3 separate regions of the Homo sapiens genome follow, and regions 1 and 2 are each linked to region 3. The links are contacts of gene promoters, found by promoter capture Hi-C in blood cells and fetal thymus (Javierre and others, 2016). All regions are on one chromosome and are shown on one strand. Each heading gives the region's core, a stretch centred on a gene start or on the middle of the fragment in contact. The rest is flanking DNA. Distances are from core to core; before and after follow the strand shown. Region 1 has its middle 63 kb from the start of RGS10. Region 2 has its middle 80 kb from the start of RGS10. Region 3 holds the start of PRDX3 (peroxiredoxin 3).

The links. Contacts are between HindIII fragments. The CHiCAGO score rates a contact against its expected background, and 5 or more counts as called.
Region 1: a fragment that was not itself captured here is called in contact with the fragment with the promoter of PRDX3 in region 3 in 6 of 17 cell types (naive CD8 T cells, M1 macrophages, endothelial precursors and 3 more); the score reaches 7.7 in naive CD8 T cells.
Region 2: a contact is called between a fragment that was not itself captured here and the fragment with the promoter of PRDX3 in region 3, in 6 of 17 cell types (total B cells, endothelial precursors, total CD4 T cells and 3 more). The highest score is 8.1, in total B cells.

What each region holds. Positions count from the first base shown.
Region 1 is chr10:119,477,771-119,481,279 of GRCh38, reverse strand. No RefSeq gene overlaps it. Among named protein-coding and RNA genes, the nearest start is that of RGS10, 63 kb to the left of the region's middle. RefSeq lists enhancers at 1,208-1,787, 3,137-3,206. The HindIII fragment of the contact is 2,942 bases long and covers 187-3,128 here.
Region 2 is chr10:119,460,529-119,464,170 of GRCh38, reverse strand. No RefSeq gene overlaps it. Among named protein-coding and RNA genes, the nearest start is that of RGS10, 80 kb to the left of the region's middle. RefSeq lists an enhancer at 1,710-1,959. The HindIII fragment of the contact is 4,863 bases long and covers 1-3,642 here.
Region 3 is chr10:119,177,504-119,180,702 of GRCh38, reverse strand. PRDX3 (peroxiredoxin 3) reads left to right here and starts at 1,891. Exons shown (of 7, transcript NM_006793.5): 1 at 1,891-1,948. The coding sequence starts at 1,913. RefSeq lists a silencer at 1,749-1,858 and enhancers at 1,889-2,368, 2,368-3,012. The HindIII fragment of the contact is 12,445 bases long and covers 1-3,199 here.

The DNA.
Region 1 (3,509 bases), core at 408-2,907, 300 kb before region 3:
CGGGAGGCTGAGGCAGGAGAATCGCTTGAACCTGGGAGGTGGAGGTTGCAGTGAGCCAATGTCACGCCACTGCACTCCAGCCCTGGGCAATGAGAGCAAAACTCCGTCTCAAAAAAAAAAAAAAAAAGAAAGAAAATAGGAACTCAAATCTTCATTTTCACCCGGAGGGAAGGTAGGAAACAAGCTTGAAAGGAAGATCCAGGAGAGAAAAAAATACTCAAAAAGGCACGATTTGTTTTGACACTTGCATGGGTTTTAAGTTTGAACCCAGGAGAGCTTTGAGGACAACATTAAATGAAACAATGGCAGTGGGGTAATAAGTATTAGTCTGCGAGCCTTCCTCTGTTACCAGCTGCCTTTGAAAACCCCGTCATTGCCAGCTGGCTTACATCATCTCCGCCCATGGAAAAAATGCCAGGCAAAGCTACATGATACAGGAAGGGGCAGAAGAGGGAAGGGAGAAGTGAAGGGGGTGCCAGGGTGGCTGCCAGGGTGAGAGACATGGATAGGAGAGAAATGAGGATTTTAATAGGCTCCCAAACCAGGTACAATGTCTCACACCTGTAATCCCAGCACTTTGGGAGTCTGAGGTGAGAGGATTGCTTGAGCCCAAGAGTTTGAGACCAGCCTGGGCAACAGTGTGAGACCCCCATCTCTACAAAAAATAAAAAATTAGCTGGGCATGAAGGCACATGCCTCTAGTCCCAGTTACTTGGGAGGCTAAGTAGTGGGAGGATTGTCTGAGCCTGGGAGTTTGAGGCTGCAGTGAGCCATGATTACACCACTGCACTCCAGCCTGGATGACAAAGTGAGACCCTGTCTTTTAAAAATAAAAATAAAGGCCAAGCGCAGTGGCTTACACCTATAATCCCAACACTTTGGGAGGCCGAGGTGGGTGGATCACTTGAGGTCAGGAGTTCGAAACCAGCCTGGCCAACATGGTGAAACCCTGTCTCTACTAAAAATACAAAAAATTAGCTGGGTGTGGTGGCACATGCCTGTAATCCCAGCTACTCAGGAGGCTGAGGCAAGAGAATTGCTTGAACCCAGGAGGCAGAGGTTGCAGTGAGCTGAGATTGCACCACTGCACTCCAGCCTGGGCAACAGAGTGACTCCTTCTAAAATAAAATAAAATAAAATAAAATAAAATAAAATAAAATAAAATAAAATAAAAATGCATTAAAAATAAAAAAATTAATAAATTATTAGAACTTGGTGTTGGGCTCTCCTTCAGAGTGCTGGGGAAACAGAAGAAAAACACACTGGACTGTGCTTCTCCAGCTGCACAATGGCTCGAGACTGGACCATGTGGGTGCTGGAGAATGTAAGAGTTACTTCATTGATCCTTGGGCTTCATGAGGAGAGAGGCCTGGGGAATTGCCACTGGGGAGGAGTTAATGCTCGCTGCTGTAGGAGGTGGGGTTAAGAGGCTTCTTCTTCCCGTGATTTACCTTAGGAATGGCACTGTCCTTGTGGCTGCAATTCCTGAGGCTCTTCCTTAATGACGACCCCCACTGTGTAGATCACAAAGACTTTCCCTTCCAAGTGGCCTCCCGCCAGCCTCACAGCAAGTCTAGAAATACACACACCAGGATCAACATGCCCATTAAGCAGATGGAAAAAGTACGACTCAGAGGCATCATGTGACAGCTACATCAGGAACACGGTGGCATCTGAGCTCACTTTATCTGACGATGAATCGGGCACCACTGCTTGCCCCATGGATGCCAGGCTCTGTCCATCTGAACTTGGATCAGATTGAACTCGGAGTTGGTTTGGCTTCACTGTTCCCAGAGCAGCTCTCAAGTAACTTTGGCACTCGGGCTGAGTTGTCACTCTGGTTTCTTTCCGTGACTTTCTTTGCTTGTTGTCGGCACTTTTAAAAGACCTATTGAATTGTTTGTGAAAATGAGCGACAGTACATTTGCCAAAGCATCATGTGGGTGGCGGCATTCTGCTATCTATTCTGCACACCAAAGCAATGATGCTGCTAATTACATCTGTCCCGTCTGGCTGTACCCGTCTGCCTCTCTGCCTGGCTCAGCACTGTGACTGTTTATGGTGTTCCCAGCTTAGACGTGAGAGGGAGGAGGGCCAGGGAGTCAAGGGCTGTATCCTCTCCACGGTGTTCACACAGAGCCAGGAAAGGCTGCTGTGGCTGAAGTTCTGATTTCTCGTTTTTTTCAGTTGTTGATGGGAGTTGGGGTAGAAAGGGAGGAAGATGTTGCTCCTTGGAAGCAAATGGCATGGGGAAGACACCCTGAATTACAACTGAGAAATGAAACCTCTACAGTTTAACTTGCAGCAAGTTCAAAGGATGTGTTAGGAAAAATTGCAGGTGCTGGTTCTGTGGTATTTGGGGTTTAGATGAAAAAAATAAGTAAACAAACTAACTTCATAGCTCATCTGAAAGAGGGCCTGGCTCAGAGATCATCACTTCCCACAAGAACCCCCTTCTATGGGTCCAAAGGAGGCAAGGATGATGGAAGGAGACAGAGGGAGGGAGAGGGGAAAATCACATCTATTTTTTGGAAGAACGTCAAAGGGAACTCAATAAAGACCCATCCCGTTCACCCAGCTTTCTCTATAGAAACAGAGCTGAGGACTGGATCTGCTATTACATCAGAGATGGGGCAGGAGGAAATAATTTTCTGATGTTCCAGTTTTGCTCAAGTTCAGGCTGTAGAAACCACAGTTTCTTAAGAGGTGGAACCGGTTCACTGGACTTTTTTTTTTTTTTTTCTGTGATGTAGGAAGAAAGGTTCCAAGATGCTACAAACCCTGCAACACTTACTTTAAGTATCCCAGAGGTCTGGAGTGGGAGGAGGCTGGCTGACCTCTTTACTTCTTCAGTTCAGATGCTTAGGGACAGAGGTCATGTGACACCTGTTCCTCTCCCCCCGCCACGCCCCTGCCACACACACAGAGAGACCTGCAGTGAGCAGGGGGCTCTGATGCCCGGTCCTGTGACCTTTCCTCTGCACCTTTGGGTCTATGTAGATTGCAATTTCCTGCTCACCCTCTCTGGGGCATCCCCTGCAGTGCTGACTTCTTTAACCGTTGGCTGGTGTGGCCAAGCGTGCAGCACACAGGCTGTCCTGCCCTGAGCTATGATTCTACATGAAGCTTTCCAGTGACCTCCCTTTCTGCCATTTATTCTGTGTCCTGCAGAATAGCTTTGATTCACAATGAGTGACACGGATCTATAGGAATCTGGAATCTGTGGCAAAGAACAACAGGACAGGGTACGGCATCAAAGGTTAAAAGGGCTGGAGGTGCCTTTTTGAGACGGTTTAAGGAATGGGCTAGATCTATGGCATTGTAGGGAGAAGTGCAAGCCCTCTGTCATCATCAAGGTATCATGACCATCTCCAAAGTGTGTAGGATGAAGCCACCTATAGGAAAGGTGGTGGGAAGAACTGGGAGCCAGAGACACAATATGCCCATGGGGTTTGAAGAGAACCAAGGGCTGTAAAAGACAGGCTTGCAAATGATCTCAGCTGGAGTGA
Region 2 (3,642 bases), core at 946-3,445, 280 kb before region 3:
AACCTACAGTCACATTTCTGTGCCTTAAAGTCACTTGGGGATGGTCTCTGTGTGATTATGCCACCACCTGCATATGAACAGATTTGTTTCTTCCATTTGTCTTCTGGTTTATAGGGGCTGCTATAAAAAATTTTTAGTTTTGTTTTACAATTATCAAAAACATATATTACATATGACAATAGTGAATTTTACTTGAGCCCGGTGCTCCTGGAAAACAGTGAAGATTAAAGGAATTCCCCCTGCCAGGTGCAGTGGCTCAATCTGTAATCTCAGCACTTTGGGAGACCGAGGCAGGAGGATCCCTGGAGGCCAGGAGTTCAAGACCAGGCTGGGTAACATAATGAGATCCCAGTTCTGCAAAAAATTTAAAAAAGTTAGCCGGGTGTGGTTGCACATACCTGTAATCCCAGCTACTCTGGAGGCTGAAGTGGAAAGATTGCTTGAGCCCAGGAGTCAGAGGCTGCAGTGAGCTATGATTGCACCACTGCACTCCAGCCTGGGTGACAGAGTAAGACCCTGTCTCATAAAACAAAACAAAACAACAACAAAAAGCCAAAACGAGAGATTCTCCTCACATTTTTGTTTTCCAGGAAAACAACATGCTGCAAAAAACCACCTTTCCCCATATGACTTTGTATTAGTCTGTTCTCACATTGCTAATAAAGACATACCTGAGACTGGGTAATTTGTAAAGGAAAGAGGTTCAATAGACTCACAGTTCCACATAGCTGGGGAGGCCTCACAACCATGGTGGAAGGCAAGGAGGAGCAAAGGCACATCTTACATGGTGGCAGGCAAGAGAGAGTGTGTGCAGCAGAACTCCCCTTTATAAAACCAACAGATCTCATGAGACTTATTCACTATCACTAGAACAGCATGGGGAAGACCCGCCCCCATGATTCAATTACCTCCCACTGGGTCCCTCCCACAACATGTGGGAATTATGGGAATTACAATTCGAGATTTGGGTGGGGACACAGACAACCACATCAGACTTCCATAAGGCCGAGGGATGTCCCCCTTATTTATCTATGAAAGGCCAGACACAGACCCTCCAAATTCCCATTCTTTGCCTCATAAATGATTAGCTGAACGGCCTGTTCCCACTGATCCATGGAAACAAAATGCTTGCTAGCCAGACTTGGGTAAGTTTCACTCCTTCTTCCTGGACTCTGAACTTTGACCAACTCAGCCTGAGCCTGCAGGCAGCCCCTCCAGAGCAGAGGCTGCCTCAGGGTGACATTTTCTGATCTATTTATCTAATCACATCACCCTTTCATCCCACTTTCCACACCTGGCTCTTTCTAGCCTTGTTCTTTCTACAAAAGAGATCATCTTTTCGCCTAACCCTCAAGACCCTTGCAGATGGCATGGTCAAGCCTTCTGCGTTTTGCAGTGCTCTCCATCCCAGCCCCTGTTGCAGTAGCCCCTTTCCTCCCTTGCAAAAATCTTTCAAATAGTTCTCTCCCCACTGAGTCTGGATTTGTGTTTTATTTGACGTGTGCTTGCAAAGTCAAATCTACAAGACAAGGCACATTTCTGAGCAGACTGGCTTTTATATCTGTCTCTCACTCTCCTCCCCTGGTGGCTTCCCTCTCCCTGTAGGTAACTTTTTTCCTTTTTTTGGTTTATCTTTTCATTAAAAATATGACAGTAGGATTCTATGTCGTATCCTCTTTCCTTTTGTTTAAGAACAGTGGTAGCCAATTGTACCCACCTGCTTCCATTTGCAGGTAAGAGCCTCACTCTCTTCAGCCCTCTGTGACTCTGAAAAGCCATCGGCAGGAAGATCAGTGGCTGCTTTGCCCTAAGCGTCCTCAATGAGATGAAAGCGCTTTGTAAACCAGTGGGCCTCAAACTGGAGTGTGCACCCCAGTCACCTGGGGGTCCTGTTCATAGGTCCCACCCAGACTCCTAACTCAATAGGCTTGGCACGGGGAGCAGGAACCTGGATCTCTCAGAAGTTCACAGGGCTGCTGCTGCAGCCTGTAGTGGTGAGGGTGTCAGACTTTGAAAACTACTGGTATCAGTTCCCCTCAAGGGCAGGGCAAATGTTGGTGAGTATTAATAAAACTTCTGTACCATAGAATACAGGACCTGGTTTGACTATAGACCCAGCCTGCCATTCCGGTTTGGGGCTTTCTTTCTTTCTTTTTTTTTTTTTGGGACAGAGTCTCACTCTGTCACCCAGGCTGGAATGCAGTGGCACAATCTCAGCTCACTGCAATCTCCACCTCCAGGGTTCAAGGGATTCTCCTGCCTCAGCTTCCCAAGTAGCTGGGATTACAGGTGCATGTCACCACACCCAGCTAATTTTTATAGTTTTAGTAGAGTTGGGATTCCACTATGTTGGCCAGGCTTGTCCCAAACTCCTGACCTCAGGTGATCCACCCACCTAAGTCTCCCAAAGTGCTGGGATTAGGTGTGAGAAATGGTGCCCAGCCAGGTTTGGGGCTTTCTAAGGCCTCTCTGCTCAAAGTGTTGTCTGAGGACCAGTGGCTTCGCCCAGGAGCACTCAGAAGCACGGGCTGTGCCCTACCCCACACCCACTGAATCAGATTCTAGTTTATCAAGATTCCAAATGAGTCAGAACTCCTGAAGCATGAGAGGTGCTGACCCAAGCCTTCTGCGCCTTGTGGTTTACCTGCCAGTAGTTGATGCCCCTAGAGTGCAAACTCTAGATCTCACCCCATGGCCTGCTGAATGGGCTTTTCCTGCTCTCTCCCCCAAGATAGCCAAGCCAAGGCCCCATGACAACTGGCCCAGGCCTGGGCAATGTTTGGCTTGGCAAACTGCTGGGCAAAGTGGTACCAGGAGCCCTGCCATGCTGTGGCTCAAGGGTCTGTTCCCAGGGCCCCAGCTCTCCCTCCTCTTCACGGTCTCTGGATATGGCAGGTGGATCCTAACAGCTTTAAGGACTGCCTCCCACAGGGGTTGTGGCCTGGAGCTCTCTGGGGCCCAGGGATGCTGGCTTTGAGCCTTTCCTGAAAATGAGTTAGATGGAGGCTCTTTTGGTCCCCTCACCAAATCCACGGTTGTCTGGTGTGGACAGGACGGGCACAGGCCTGAAAGGTGTGGAGGAGGTAAGAGGTGGGTACTCCTCCTGCCCAGCCCAGCCCATCTGCCTGGGAAGGGGCCAAAGCTGCTGGGCAGGGCAGTGTAAATGGTGAGGGGGGCCGGAGCTGTGGGGCTGGAGTTTCTCCCACTGATACCCTACCTGTCCCAGGAGAGACGGCAGCTTCTGTCTGCCTGGAGGCTGGCTCGGACAGTGGAGTTTCTGGAGTGGTGAAAGCCCCAGAGACAGAGCTGGGCCCTGCGGGGAGGTCCTCCCCATCCCTGTTCTGAGATCAGAGCATTTCCTGCCCCACCCCTGCATCTTCTGCCCTTGAGGGCTACCCGCCTGGTCGGCAAATCCTCGGCCATGAGTACCCCCATTCTTCCATCCTGGGAGAGCCCCTTCCTCATCCCACCCTCATTGCCAGCCGGCCCCTCTTTCTCTCTGTCCAATTCCACAGGGTCCCCCAGTAAGCAGATTCTTCCCCAGGCTCCAGGCCTGGCTGGAGTGTGGCTCCAGGCAGGGCTGGGTGTGAATGGGTGTGAGGTCAAGGCCAGGCCCCTGCTCAAAGCCAAGGCCTCTGTGCT
Region 3 (3,199 bases), core at 642-3,141:
TTTTTTTTTTTTTTTTGAGACGGAGTTTCAATCTTGTTGCTGAGGCTGGAGTGCACTGGTTCAATTTCGGCTCACTGCAACCTCTGCCTCCCAGGTTAAAGTGATTCTCCTGCCTCAGCCTCCCAAGTGGCTGAGATTACAGGTATGCACCACCATGCCCAGCTAATTTTGCAATTTTTAGTAGAGAAAGGGTTTCACCATGTTGGTCAGGCTGGTCTTGAACTCCTTACCTCAGGTGATCCACTCACCTCAGCTTCCCAAAGTGCTGGGATTACAGATGTGAGCCACTGCGCCCGGCCTACAGTACGATTTTGAGCTCCAAAATGATTGTCTCCTTTTCAATCATCTGCTAAACACAGACATAATTAAAACCAATTAAACAAACACAAGGAAGGTGTGAGGTGAAATAGTCGAAACGTGTGTCCCCACACATCCAAGGCAGTCCTTTCCACATCTGGGGACTGGTACCCAGGGTGGCGCCTAGTGGTACCTGAGATGATTTTAGAAAATATACTGGGCTGGGTGTGGTGGCTCACGCCTGTAATCCCAGCACTTTGGGAGGCCAAGGTGGGAGGATCACCTGATGTCAGGAGTTCAAGACCAGCCTAGCCAATATGGTGAAACCCCATCTCTACTAAAAATACTAAAAAAATTAGCCGGGTTTAGTGGTGCACGCCTGTAATCCCAGCTACTCGAGAGGCTGAGCCAGAAGAATCGCTCGAACCAAGGAGGTAGAGGTTGCAGTGAGCCGAGATTGTGCCACTGCACTCTAGCCTGGACGACAGAGTGAGACTCTGTCTCAAAAAAGAAAAGGAAAAAAAAAAAAGAAAGCCAATTTAAAGAAAATAGTAAGTGATATTTGGTGATAAGAAGACTTGAGAAACGAAGTTGCTAATTGAATGACTAGTGATTGGAAAATACCAACTCAGACCGGGTGCAGTGGCTCATGCCTATCATCCCAGCACTTTGGGAGGCCGAGGTGGGCGGATCACTTGAGGTCAGGAGTTTGAGACCAGCCTGGCCAACATGGTGAAACCCCATCTCTACTTAAAATACAAAAACTTAACTGGGCATGGTGGCAGGCGGCTGTAATCCCAGCTGCTCAGGAATCCCAATTACTCATGAAGCTCAGGCAGGAGAATCGCTTGAACCCGGGAGGCAGAGGTTGCAGTGAGCCAAGATCATGCCACTGCACTCCAGCCTGGGCGACAGAGCAAGACCCAGTCTCAAAAAAAAAAAAAAAGAAAAGAAAAGAAAAGAGAAAAGAAAATACCAGCTCCAAGACTGCAATTTGTCACACTTACTGTAAGGCCACGGTGTGATTTTTATCTATGTTTGATGTGGTTGCTTCAAGTACTATGCTCACCACTGAACACTTGGCTTCATTAATAGACAAAAACCAAATTTTAAATTTGTCCCAGTTTTCCCAATTTTGGGAAGAGAGGCCAAATGTTAGACCACACACAATTCCAGCGGATTTCAGGCCAACAAAGCCTTGATGTGTCTAGCCCACTTAGCTTATTAACGGACTAAAACTGCATTTGTAATTAATTCCATTTCATACAGAAGCCGGAAGTCTCTACCTGAGGCTGAAATAAGAAAGGGATCCTGTCACAGAAATACTAGACACAGTAATCCACACAAGGTTAACAAAACAGTGGGAAATATGGAAACAAATACCTAATGCCCCGCCTGGATTCGTTCTTTTAAGGTTGGGGCGACAGTAGGAAAACCACGTGTCACTTGCCCAAGCATTCAGCCTTAAAGGGAATTTCTCCCTCAGGGTCTCCAGGAGGCGGGGAGGCGGTGGCTCCTCCGGCCCCGCCCCCCCACCAGCAGAGGGCCCGCTCACCACCCCGTAGGCCCCGCCCCTGCGTCTCTGCCCGCCCCGTGGCGCCCGAGTGCACTGAAGATGGCGGCTGCTGTAGGACGGTTGCTCCGAGCGTCGGTGAGTGGCTGTCGGCTGGGGACAGGCGTGGAGACACTGGTGGCTCCGGGAACGTGCTTCTCAGACAGGACCCCGCGCTTCTGGGCATGAGGGCCATTCGCCCTTCTTGGAGGGTTTCCGCGGGTAACGGACCCAGAGGCCTCCCTCCGGGAAGGTTCCATGCGCCTGCGCAGAACCGCCCTTCCCCACTCCATCCTCGCGGTCTCTTCCCCGAGTCCCTCCTCTTTCGGCGTCCCCGGTCCCCAGGCCCATCTCCACTTAAGGTCCTGGCCCTGATTCTGCCACCGACCCTGTGATCTTGGGCAAGCGCCTTCGCCTTTCTCAGACTGTGTACTTAAGATGGAAAGAATGATGCCTACATCAAGGCGTTGCTGTGAACAGCCCCTTAAATACTGGATAAAAACGCGCAAAGTGCTAAAAAACTCACAAAGGCTTTCCCTCCCAATCCCACTCCCGCGTGTTTCTGCTGCTGTTTCCTGCTTAACTGTGGGCAATGCGTCGTGCTCTTTTGGTACACGGCTTTCTCTGGTGGGGTTCAACACAGCCCCTTTCGTTCTCCTGAGTCATTTTGAACATTAAAGTTGAGCAAACCGGCAGAGTGCGGTGGCTCACGCCTGTAATCCTAGCACTTTGGGAGGCCGAGGCGGGCAGATCACTTGAGCCCAGGAGTTTGAGACCAGCCTGGACAATAATAGTGAGACCTTGTCTCTAAAAAAAAAAATAGCCGGGCATGGTGGTCAGTGCTCCTGGGGAGGCTAAGGTGGGAGGATCACTTGAGCCCAGGAGGTCGAGACTGCAGCGAGCCGAGATCGCGCCACTGCACTCTAGCCTGGGTAAAAGAGCGAGACTCTGTTTCAAAAAAAAAAAAAAAAAGTTGAGTAAACATGTCCCTTGAGCCTTTAACAGACTCCCAGAGGCTGAATTTGGCTCTTCTTGTTTACTTGTCGCTGGTGCTGGAGGGGCCTTGTTTTTCTAAGGAAAACCTTGAAATGGTAGAACATACTCAGCAGATAGTGCTGGGAAAAGCCTGCACAAGTCCCCTGGCTTCTGAACCCTGTGTTGCTTTAAGCGCATGGAGTTTCTGATTTTTTTTTTTTTTTTTTTTGAGACGGAGTTGTCGCCCAGGTTAGAGTGCAATGGCGCGATCTCGGCTCTGCAACCTCTGCCTCCCGGGTTCAAGCAATTCTCCTGCCTCAGCCTCCCAAGCAGCTGGAATTACAGGTGCCCGCCACCGCCGCCTGGCTAAGTTTT